3 separate regions of the Homo sapiens genome follow, and regions 1 and 2 are each linked to region 3. The links are contacts of gene promoters, found by promoter capture Hi-C in blood cells and fetal thymus (Javierre and others, 2016). All regions are on one chromosome and are shown on one strand. The core of a region is centred on a gene start or on the middle of the fragment in contact, and the rest is flanking DNA. Distances in the headings are between cores, read along the strand shown.

Region 1 (3,964 bases), core at 551-3,050, 360 kb after region 3:
AATCAGTTTCACTTCCAACACATTCTTTTAACCAAAAGTGAATCCAAGACTCATCTCAGATTGAAAATAAGGGGATCATACAAAGTATTGATTCCTCACTAGCATGCTACATTGGGGGCGGGCATCTTTTGAGATCAGCTACAACAAATACTGATGAGGTGAATTAAATTACTCTAAAAATTCTCATATTATTCAGCTTCTAGCCAAGATATGATGAAAGGGACTGAATTTGCTTTCCTAACTGACCTAAAACAAAACAAACCAAAAGTGGAATAAAATATAGTAAACAATGAGTTTCAAGACAGTAGACATCAGGCAAGTAAGGACAGTTATCCCTGAAATATGTGAAACAAATGAGGCAGGCCCTACAACTACCCCAGTTTTCTGTCTTCAAAGAGTTTCCAGGCTGCAGTGCAGGGAAGCAAGACCAAATGGAACTCAGTGGAGTCCCTAAGTGGAGGAGATGTAATTGGAGTACAGAAAGACCAAACCCGCTAAAGCTCGCAAGAAAGAATACTGGAGAAAAGAAAGCTGCACACAGAGAGAAGCCTGAAAACCTACAGAGGATCTTCCTCAAGTAATGAATGAATGTGTGCAGATGAGGACACTAACCAAGGTGGAGGAAGGGAGGAGGGCACCTAAAAGAATTAGTGAGAACAGTATCCAATCAACACACAGGGCCTGAAATAGTATCTGTTTCCACCGTCGAGAAAGGAAAGCATTATAATTCATAAGGCATTGGGGAAAATTCTCAAATGGTCTTTCTTAGTAGTGAACAGCAGTAAAAAATAATAAAGTCAACTTACACATAGCAACATGTATAAATTTGAAGATATAGCATTGATAGAAAAAGAATAACAGATTTACAACCCAGTGACAGTTATATAAATTCAATTTTAAAAGAATTTTTTCATAAATTAAGTATATCCCTGTATAAGCATACTGAAAATTAATTAGAAAGATATATTTTAAATCCACTGGAGTTTTCACTTTCCTAAAGGGAAGGGAAATAGGAGGAATGTTGGAAAATACAGGAAAAGAAATAAAGCAAAAGTCTTGAAGAAACTTATGATGCTTGTTTCCATTAGTTGATAAGTGTGAATAATTCATATAAGGTTCAAAATGAAAATAAAACCTAAAGGAAAAACATAGTTGCTAACTAATATTGGGTTATTTATAAATTCCATTTTTAAACCTCTCACCACAAAAAAAATTATTATAGGTCTTTTTTCTCTGAATATCACATTGCATTTTCTCAGTAAGATTTTGTTCAGTTTTCTCTTGCATTTTTATCATAATACCTTCATAAAAGTCATGATAGATTAACACCAATCCATTCAATAGCATGGTTTGGGCAGTGCCTATCAAACAAAACAAGCAGGAAGCCCACAAAAATTTCCATTCACTTATTGGATCCACAGAAGCTGCTCAGTGTGCATAGGCAGATGAATATGAACACAGATGGATGTGAACATAAGATCCCTGTACCCAGGAGACGTACTTACTGCCTACAGGACAAGCAGTCAGTGTAGCACTGGATTACCGGGGGTTTTTTGTCACAGAAAGAAAGAGAATAATTTTCTTCTCCCATCTAACTGCCTGTTTTTCCCAGGAGGACCTTTTGGTCCTACGGGAAGAGGGATTAAGAAGTTCCCAGAGGTCAGAGTTTCTGAGGCACTACAATTATAACTGCCCCAGATACTTCTGAAACTAACAAGAGCTCCAATATTAATGGAGCCAAACCCCATGCTTCACATTTTCTGTGAGTCTGGCTAGAGGATGTTAATGGTGGCTATACAAAGATTAGCCAGAAGACTAGAGAGATCTCTGTCTTCAGTCCCTATCTGTGCTCTTTTCCATTCCTGCGTCAATACTGCTGAAGTAGTCTGAGAAGGAAATAAATAAAGACTGCACCCTGTCTCAGGTAAAGAGGCTTATGTGCTCTGGGACCTTCTCTCTTTTGCCATCCTCTGGGTGCTTGGTGGTAGCAGAAATGCAGGAAAGTTGCAATTTGTCTATAGAAGATTAACAGGCAGTATGAGAGCTAAAAAGTGCATAATTTGGAGCCAAGTAAAGAAAATTTGGAGTTTTCAACTCTGAATATGGAAATTTAGTGGCTTGAAAACAAAGAATATGCCTACCAGTGTCTGAATTATAAAGTTAGAATTACATTAGTTTCTATAACTTCAGAGGTTGAAGACAAAGACCACAGTTCAGGACCAGTGGAAGTCAGGAAGTAGTTCAAAATATTTCTGATCAAAATTGCTAAAATCTACTTCTGACAAGAACAGAAAACTACGCCCAGAAGAGCAGCTAGCTACCTGTCACTGGATGCACTGAATAATATCTGAAACTACACCTGAGAGAGGTATCTTACAGGCCTGCCTGAATTTTACCAAGATAGAACCCTAGCAACTCTTTTACTTTTTAAAACAGGGTTTCTTTGGCACTATTCTGTGGGCCTATCTTGCAACCTGGGAAAGCCTAGGCTGATGGTCTCTCCTTTAGTCTTTGAGCTTCAACTTCTTTGGCTTTCTCATCTTGTTCCTGGCTGGAACTGGAAACCATTAGCTCCAGTTCCTAAGCCCTAGTGTGCCATTGGCAAGTTTTGATTACAAACCAAGATTGAATAATGAAAGGAGAAAAGGAGCAAATGTGTTTCCAGATGCTTTACTTCTAGGGATGAGTACTTTATTGATGCTTGTTGAATGATTGAAAAACATGCAGAAACATTAGAGAAAATAGAAGGAAAAAGGAAAAGTCAGTGAGTTAGAAAAATAAAATAATCCTCCCATGTAATCCTCAGAAATTTCATCTTAGTGCTAAAAATAATTATCCCAAAGCTCTTCAAGAGACAGAAAATATACTTTTTCCTCTAGGCTTCTCTATGGATACTCATGCCTAAGTCACTAGATCTTCCATTTGGCTCTACCCTGCAAAGGTCATTTCAAGATTTTCTCTACTTCCAAGCACAAAACATTTAATTCCTTCTAGGAGTCCTTTGTGACCCCTGGAGAAGAAAAGCTACTTGGAAAGGTAAGATTTGGGGCTGTGATTTTCTTTAAAAAAAAAAAAAAAAAAACCACCTTATTTGCTTCAGGTTTTTTAAAATAAAATAAAACATTTCTGAAGTTTAAGTCCCCTTCATACACTGCAAAAGGCTCCTAGAACAGATAAAGGACTCCAGGATACAAAATCAATGTACAAAACTTAGTAGCATTTCTGTACGCCAATAAAGTTCAAGCTAAGAGCTGAATCAAGAATGCAATCCTAGTTACAAGTGCCACAAAAAGAATAAAATACCTGAGAATACAACTAACCAAGAGGCTGTGATTTTTAACTGTAAAAATTTTGCAGAAAGTAGGATCAGAGGATGCAATGAGCAAAGGAATAAATGACAAGAAAGTAATGCAGAAGATAGTGTTTAAAGGGAATATGTGGAATTTAACAGCCTATAGTTGTACTTGCTGTGGGTGCAAAGTTAATTGGGGTTGGGTCAATTATGCCAAGTTCTAGGCTTAGAAGGTCTTACTGGTTTTTGTTCCACACTTACAAGTTAATGTATTCAAAGACAGAGAAGGAAAAGAAGTGAATGAACATAGTGCCCAGGGCATGAAGAAGGGTCGTTAGTCACCAACTGGAGGCTGGAAGTTTTGTTCTAGGGGTTATTATCTTGAGGACCTCCTGTAACTCCAGTATGTCTTACTCTCAGTGAGCCACTCTATCAAGGAAAATGGCAAAAATATTAGAAAAGAGAAAGTAAGATTGGAGGGTGGCAGGTATGAAGTGCATAGAGAATGATTTTATAATCTTTATTTAACCTTGAAGGGGTTGTTCCTTAAGAGTCAAAACCAGGAATACAATAAAAGACACAATACAAAAGGGGAATAAGGAGGGAATTGGAGCCTATGAGCTGTGGGAAGCAGGAGTCGGAGTTGCAAGAGGAAGGAAGAGGGAGAATCTC
Region 2 (3,892 bases), core at 7-2,506, 280 kb after region 3:
CAGTCTATTTGGCTTAAATTACTACTTCCTATTAAACATGTAGTTTGAGTAAATCACTCAACTTTTCCGAACATAAGTATATTAATCACAAGAATGGAAAAACTAATACATACTTTATAAAACTGCCTTGAGGATCCAGCAATAGAAATAAAAGAACTTGGAAAAGGAGAGTTCGACAAGGGTAAAATTCTCATTATTATAATTAAAGTCAAAAGCTTCAGTTAACAGATAAATAATGTTATTGGCTGCAGCATTCCCTTCTGTTTTTCTGCTTTCTATTAGGTTAGAGTGACAGACTCTCCAACCTCCAACTGGTTAGTGATTGGTCTTGAGAAAAATCCTCAGCACTCTCTCTCGAATCTGCTTTGTCCTGACTCCATAGATTACAGGATTGAGGGCTGGTGGGACAACCACATACAGGTTGGCTAATATAATATGTATATACTGTGGGATATTATGGCCAAAACGATGTGTCAAGAATGAAAAAAATGCTGGTGTAAAAAAGGCTAAGATAACACCAATATGAGAACCACAGGTGTTGAGAGCTTTGAGTCGAGCTTCCCAGGAGGGCAGGCAGAAGACAGCATACAGGATCCTGACATAGGAGAGAATAATAAGGATAACATCCAGTAACAAGAGAGATATGTTGCCAAGGCCAAACCTAATGTTGACTTTGATGCTGGCACAGGCCAGACGGGCAATGCCCATGTGCTCACAATAAGTATGAGGGATGATACGATGCCCACAGAAGGGCAGCCTCAGAAGGAGAAACACCAGTGGAACAACCATGTACAGGCTCCTCAGGACAGCAATGCCTGCAATGAGGCTGATGATTTTGCTGGTGAGGATCATGGTGTACCGAAGAGGTTTGCAAATGGCAATGTAGCGGTCAAAGGCCATGGCCACCAACACAATGCTCTCCATAGCAGTGAAGAAATGGATGAAGAACATGTGAGAAAGGCAGCCTCCAAAAGATATTTCTTTGGTATTGAACCAGAAGATGCCCAACATTTTGGGGATGGTGGCTGTAGACAAGCCCAGGTCAATGGAATCCAACATGGCCAGGAAGTAGTACATAGGCTCATGGAGACTCTGCTCAGTCTGGATCACAAACAAGAGAGCAGTGTTTCCCAGGAGTGCAACAAGATACACAAAGAAAAAAGGGACTCCAATCCAAATGTGCACATCTTCTAGCCCTGGGATACCCAGCAGTAGGAATGAAGAAGGATGGAACTGGGTGTGATTAGACGTAGACATTCTTCCTGCCATATAAAGCTGCTGGGCACACCAGCGACGATTATAATATTCCTATTAGTAATTCTTGTTCCACTTCTTCTTTTGTTCAGATTTCTAGTCAAATTCACAATAACATATTAATCTTTCTTTATATATATTCATGAGTAAGGTAAAATACTCTCCACAATTTCTCCTAGCCTCTCCTGAGCAACATTGGTACCAGGAATAGAACCAGTCTTATTCTACTGCCCCTTCACCTAATATCAAAGACTAATATAAAAAGAAATGGCAGAAGAATGTCATCTGCCAAATAAAAATGCAAAATCTGGAATTTAGCCAGAACTAAATGAGAAAAATAAAGTTCCAGGGTCAGTGTCTATAGAAATGTTACACATATTTTTGCTTCACGATCAAGGTATTTGTAATCTCAACTATTCCTCTATTTGGGAATCAAAAATGTAGTGTGTAAAACCGTTTCTGTGTTGTTATGCATTTTTACAGGTATTTGTGACTACTAGACTGTATACTTCTATATACAATTTAGACTATACTGTATACAATTTGGGACTACTAGACTGTATACTTCTGTATACAATTTAGGCTGTATATACTGTATACAGTTTGTGACTACTAGACTGTATACTTCTGTATACAATTTAGACTGTGTATACTGTATACAATTTGTGACTACTAGACTGTATACTTCTGAGAGAAGAAACAATTTATCTTGCTCATATGCAGGAAAAAGATCTGCTACATAATAGTTCTCAATTTAAAACCTCCACAAATAGACATTGATTACAAGGAGGCAAAACTGTGGGTAATTTTAATGTCATATTTTAGGAAATAAATAATTTAGTTTCCATCACACCTGTGTTTGAGAAAAGAAGCTTATCCATCGGATTTGGAAAATGGGTAAAAACAAGGAAAAGAAAATACTTGACAAAGAGTATTTTGCAGCTATGATGGAACATGGATGAAGAGATAATTTTAATCTAGATAATCCTATTATTTGGAGAGTGCATAAATACACGCATTCAGTAAAGAAACTGTTTATATATAGGCCAGCTTTTTCTGTGGCAAGGAAACTAAATATTCTGGGCTACAAAATTTTCAAATATATCTCAGTCTTATATTCATGGGAAGAAAGTAGAAGCCCTTTGGATGACCTACAGTTTAGCTGCTACTCAAATTCTATCCCAGCTGTTTTGTCTCTATGGATGTCTCCAATATAGTAAATCCTGAATTTACAGATAGTAAATCCTGAATTTACGGATAGTAAATCCTGAATTTACAGATAGTAAATTCAAAATTTGAAGCAAAAAGTTCATTACTGCGCAACTTACTTTTACTTGGGAAAAACTAGTTTTACAGATAATGCGGAATTGGTTAAATGTGACGTGGCAACTACACAAAAAGCATTGATTACAATTTAAGAATACTTGAACATTGGGGGAAGTCAGAATTGAGACGTACGCAGCAGAGATAAAAGTGTGTGAATGTCAGCAAGTTCTACTTTAATCCTGTAACAACAAAAATGCATTGCTGGTAGTACCTATTTGAAGCATACGAAGAATAGCAAAAATGAGAGATTATTTGATAATTTGGGAAATTATTTCAGAGAGAGAGAGAGAGAGAGAATGTGTGTGTATAAACTTGGGTGAAACTATCAGAGATAAGGGTATAAACTTCCTGTTTTTCACTAATTGAGAATACACAAAATAGGCAGCGAAATACCTTTCACAATTTATCCCATCAAATATTGAAGAGGTTCTCTATGTATCAGTGGTAATTAGGAAGTTTAAATACAAAAAATGAATAAAACTGGTCATATATCCTTAAGGAAATCACCACGTAGTAAAGAAGATAAAATTCCAAACATGAAATTTAAGAACTGTACTGCAAGTGCTATGGTAGAAATGTGCACAGGATGTTTTAAATGTAGAGGTGAGTCAAGAAAAATTGTATAGAGGAAGTTAGGCTTATGCTGACTTACAGAGAAATTCTTCTGACAAAAAAGAAAGAAAATTTTATTCTGTATAAATAAGCAGGGGCAAAGTGGGAAAAAAAGCACAGTGGCCACTTAGGATATAAAAATGAAATCAGTCATCCTCTTCAATGGTCTTATCCAGAGATTCTTATTAAGTCTGATGTCTTGGTCATGTTTAGGGGCTCCATACAGCATGAACTGAAAAAATAAAAATATGGCTACATTCCAAGGATAGCAACTTATCCCATGTATCTCTGTGGATTTTAAAAGAAGATTTGGAAATTAATGCTTCCCTTCTCCCTAGGACAACATCATTTCCAAGTTTATAAATACTGATCAAAGCAACCAATCAATTAATTATCCAATAAATGTTTACTTAACCATTATTTCAACACATATTTACATATCTTCCAATCTCTGCTGGATTTAAAAATAAAATTGGTTCTCAGCCCCTGTTTTGACTCCCTAACTCTAAGGTCCTACATGGAATTATATCCAGCTATCCAGCAGCCACGTCCTCAGTGTGTCATCTTCTTAATCTACCCTATTGCACCAACCTCCACCACACCCTACCTATCCATATTCCCACATCCTGGAACAGATGAGCATAAGTAAAAGAGATAATGTACACCTGTTTTCTCATCTTTATCTAATCTCACAGTCTCA
Region 3 (3,855 bases), core at 1,356-3,855:
ATATGTACACATATGAATGCATGCATGTAAGTATGCATATGTATGTTTGTGTGTGTATAAGGTTGTTTTAAAAACAATCTAATATGTTAAATATTCATACACGAGGCCCTAGGTTCATTTCCCAGCACCTCAAAAAATAACTCAAGAAACTTGTCTTATATTTAGGTAAAGTAAAATATGTTCCAGCTATGACAAAAGAAACATTGGAAAATAGGAAAGATACTGGCACCTCTTTCTCTGGGACTGGAGGAAATGAGGGGAGGATGGATGCAGAGATAAATAAATGTACAGGAAAGGAATAATATGAGGGATATGTTCCTGATAGTCCTGAAATGTGAGTTACAAAAGAGAAACATTCAGTGGAGAGAGAAAAACAGAATTTGGGCAGTGATAAAAGTCGTATATGCCAGGTGTGGTGGCTCACATATGGGAGCCACCAGCACTTTGGGAGGCCAATGCCAGCATTTTGGGAGGCCAAGGCAGCTGGATCACTTGAGGTCAGGAGTTCAAGACCAGCCTGGCCAACATGATGAAACCCCATCTCTACTAAAAATACAAAAAAAAAATTAGCTGGGCATGGTGGTGGGCGCCTGTAATCCCAGTTATTTGGGAGGCTGAGACAGGAGAATCACTTGAACCCAGGAGGCAGAGGTTGCAGTGAGCGGAGATCACGTCATTGCACTCTAGGCAGGGAGACAGAGTGAGACTCCATCTCAAAAAAAAAAAAAAAGTCGTATATTCATTGTGAGAATAGTTCAATAGGACTAAGGAGGAATCATGTGTCCTAATATGTACTAAAGACTACTTATGTGATTGTGTCATTTTTTCACATCCTGACTATGTAAGCTGAGGATAACACTAGTTAGATTTAGTTGAAGTCTGAGAATTTACAGATGCAGGGGAAACCAATGGATACTAAAAGGTAATGATCCTGGTGGAACTGATAGACATCTAGAGTAGATAGGGAAGAAAGTTCAAAAAGTTCTTACATCAGTGGCTCACAAACTTCAGCATGAATCAGAATCACCTAGAGAGCTTGCTAAAACACAGAATGTTATCCCAACTCTAGGTTTTCTCATCCGTAGGTTTGTGGTAGGGCCGAAGAATTTACAAGTTCCCTGATGGTGCTGTGGAGACCAAGCTTCAGAAGCATTGTTCTACACCTTCCTTTCTGCTCTGGATGACAGTGCCACATTTCACAGCCACAGAGGTGACTCAGGAAGTCACACGCAATTTAATAAGCTTTCCACAGAGAAAATTTAGCTTAATATACCAACAAAACAACAATTATGCTCATTTTAAAAATTAGAAAATTGCTCACACCTGTAATCCCAGCACTTTGGGAGGCCCAGGTGGGTGGATCACGAGGTCAGGAGATCGAGACCATCCTGGCTAACACGGTGAAACCCCGTCTCTACCAAAAATACAAAAAAATTAGCCGGGCGTGGTGGAGGGCGCCTGTAGTCCCAGCTCCTTGGGAGGCTGAGGCAGGAGAATGGCGTGAGCCTGGGAGGCGGAGCTTGCAGTGAGCCGAGATCGCGCCACTGCACTCCAGCCTGGGCGACAGAGCGAGACTCCGTCTCAAAAAAAAAAAAAAAAGAAAGAAAGAAAGAAAATTGTTACTCAGAGAAGACAGTGACTTGTCCAAGATCAAGCAGCCAATAGTTAACAGGGCAGACCTCTGACCCAGGTTTTTTCACACCCTCTGCGGTGTTCTTTCTAAATGCCGTAGCTACCTTAATTGCCTTCATACTTAGCGCATCTGTGCCTAGGGAAAAATGGGTGTAGGGTTGGCAGTGCCCACCACCCCCAACCCTACTCTTTCACATAATCTGCTAATCAAATTGTTGTTTAGTCCTCTTGTTGTAGGACTGCAGTCCTCTCTGTAGGGCCTGGGGCTTTTGCAGAGCTCATTACAGTTCACATGCCCAAAGAGATTGTACAGATTGGTTTTGATGTTCTACCTATCCCTGTTCTTTTCTGGACCTATGGCACTGTGCTGAGTCTGGCAATGTTTTTGAGCCCTTTAGTTTCCTGAAAAAAAATTTTTTTTTTTTTGAGACGGAGTCTCACTCTGTCGCCCAGGCTGGAGTGCAGTGGCGCGATCTCGGCTCACTGCAACCTCCGCCCTCCAAGTTCAAGTGATTCTCCTGCCTCGGCCTCCCGAGTAGCTGGGATTACAGGCGCCTGCTACCACACCCAGCTGATTTTTTGTATTTTCAGTAGAGACAGGGTTTCACCATCTTGACCAGGCTGGTCTTGAACTCCTGACCTCGTGATCCACCAGCCTCAGCCTCCCAAAGTGCTGCGATTACAGGCGTGAGCCACTGCGCCCGGCCTAGTTTCCTGAAATTCTTAAAGCTGTGTGGAGAGCTTCTGAGTAAGAACACTGAGCCTGTCTGTGGGCAGGTCCTGTAACTGTGCAGAGCCTATGTGTAATTATTTACGGAGAATATGGCTGTGTGCAGAGCCTGTGTGTGATTATCTGTAGAGATATGCCTGTGTGCAGAAGCCATAACTGTCATCGGGCCTGTAAGTATATGCAGGCCTTGTGCATATGGACACTCTACTAATGTATTCAAAAATCTGAAGCTCTTTTTTCCCTATGGCACAGGTGAGGGCGCTGCATAAAATCATGGCCCTTTTTTCTGCTAACAGCATAGGTGCTATGAACAACTCTGACACTCGCATAGCAGGCTGCTTCCTCACTGGCATCCCTGGGCTGGAGCAACTACATATCTGGCTGTCCATCCCCTTCTGCATCATGTACATCACTGCCCTGGAAGGCAATGGCATCCTAATTTGTGTCATCCTCTCCCAGGCAATCCTGCATGAGCCCATGTACATATTCTTATCTATGCTGGCCAGTGCTGATGTCTTGCTCTCTACCACCACCATGCCTAAGGCCCTGGCCAATTTGTGGCTAGGTTATAGCCTCATTTCCTTTGATGGCTGCCTCACTCAGATGTTCTTCATTCACTTCCTCTTCATTCACTCTGCTGTCCTGCTGGCCATGGCCTTTGACCGCTATGTGGCCATCTGCTCCCCCCTGCGATATGTCACAATCCTCACAAGCAAGGTCATTGGGAAGATCGTCACTGCCGCCCTGAGCCACAGCTTCATCATTATGTTTCCATCCATCTTTCTCCTTGAGCACCTGCACTATTGCCAGATCAATATCATTGCACACACATTTTGTGAGCACATGGGCATTGCCCATCTGTCCTGTTCTGATATCTCCATCAATGTCTGGTATGGGTTGGCAGCTGCTCTTCTCTCCACAGGCCTAGACATCATGCTTATTACTGTTTCCTACATCCACATCCTCCAAGCAGTCTTCCGCCTCCTTTCTCAAGATGCCCGCTCCAAGGCCCTGAGTACCTGTGGATCCCATATCTGTGTCATCCTACTCTTCTATGTCCCTGCGCTTTTTTCTGTCTTTGCCTACAGGTTTGGTGGGAGAAGCGTCCCATGCTATGTCCATATTCTCCTGGCCAGCCTCTACGTTGTCATTCCTCCTATGCTCAATCCCGTTATTTATGGAGTGAGGACTAAGCCAATACTGGAAGGGGCTAAGCAGATGTTTTCAAATCTTGCCAAAGGATCTAAATAAATGCTTTCAACTTAGTCTCAACCCTTTTCTATACCTATCAATTGTCCCGTATTTAGCCCATTCTCACCTCTACATCTTCCAATTATCCCTGTGTTATTCTCATCGATCTCCCAATTTTTTTAAATATGTCACCTATTCAAACCCACCTCTGATTTCTTTTATTGGAAATCTTTAGTAAAATCTGTCTCATTCTCTTACTCTTCCTATTGAAATGCAATCTGATTTCCCATCACCTCAAGAAA

The links. The method cuts DNA at HindIII sites, captures the fragments that hold promoters and counts their contacts. A CHiCAGO score of 5 or more calls a contact.
Region 1: a contact is called between the fragment with the promoter of OR56A3 here and the fragment with the promoter of OR52B6 in region 3, in 4 of 17 cell types (M2 macrophages, megakaryocytes, non-activated CD4 T cells and 1 more). The highest score is 8.3, in M2 macrophages.
Region 2: the fragment with the promoter of OR52E8 here is called in contact with the fragment with the promoter of OR52B6 in region 3 in 15 of 17 cell types (M2 macrophages, M1 macrophages, monocytes and 12 more); the score reaches 9.7 in M2 macrophages.

Annotation. Positions count from the first base shown.
Region 1 is chr11:5,940,451-5,944,414 of GRCh38, forward strand. It overlaps OR56A3 (olfactory receptor family 56 subfamily A member 3), which reads left to right and starts at 1,801. Exons shown (of 3, transcript NM_001003443.3): 1 at 1,801-1,924. The HindIII fragment of the contact is 14,826 bases long and covers 1-3,964 here.
Region 2 is chr11:5,856,434-5,860,325 of GRCh38, forward strand. It overlaps OR52E8 (olfactory receptor family 52 subfamily E member 8), which reads right to left and starts at 1,257. Exons shown (of 1, transcript NM_001005168.3): 1 at 316-1,257. The coding sequence starts at 1,257. The coding sequence ends at 316. The HindIII fragment of the contact is 1,911 bases long and covers 214-2,124 here.
Region 3 is chr11:5,578,272-5,582,126 of GRCh38, forward strand. It overlaps OR52B6 (olfactory receptor family 52 subfamily B member 6), which reads left to right and starts at 2,606. Exons shown (of 1, transcript NM_001005162.2): 1 at 2,606-3,613. The coding sequence starts at 2,606. The coding sequence ends at 3,613. RefSeq lists a silencer at 2,848-3,142 and an enhancer at 2,848-3,142. The HindIII fragment of the contact is 3,709 bases long and covers 1,241-3,855 here.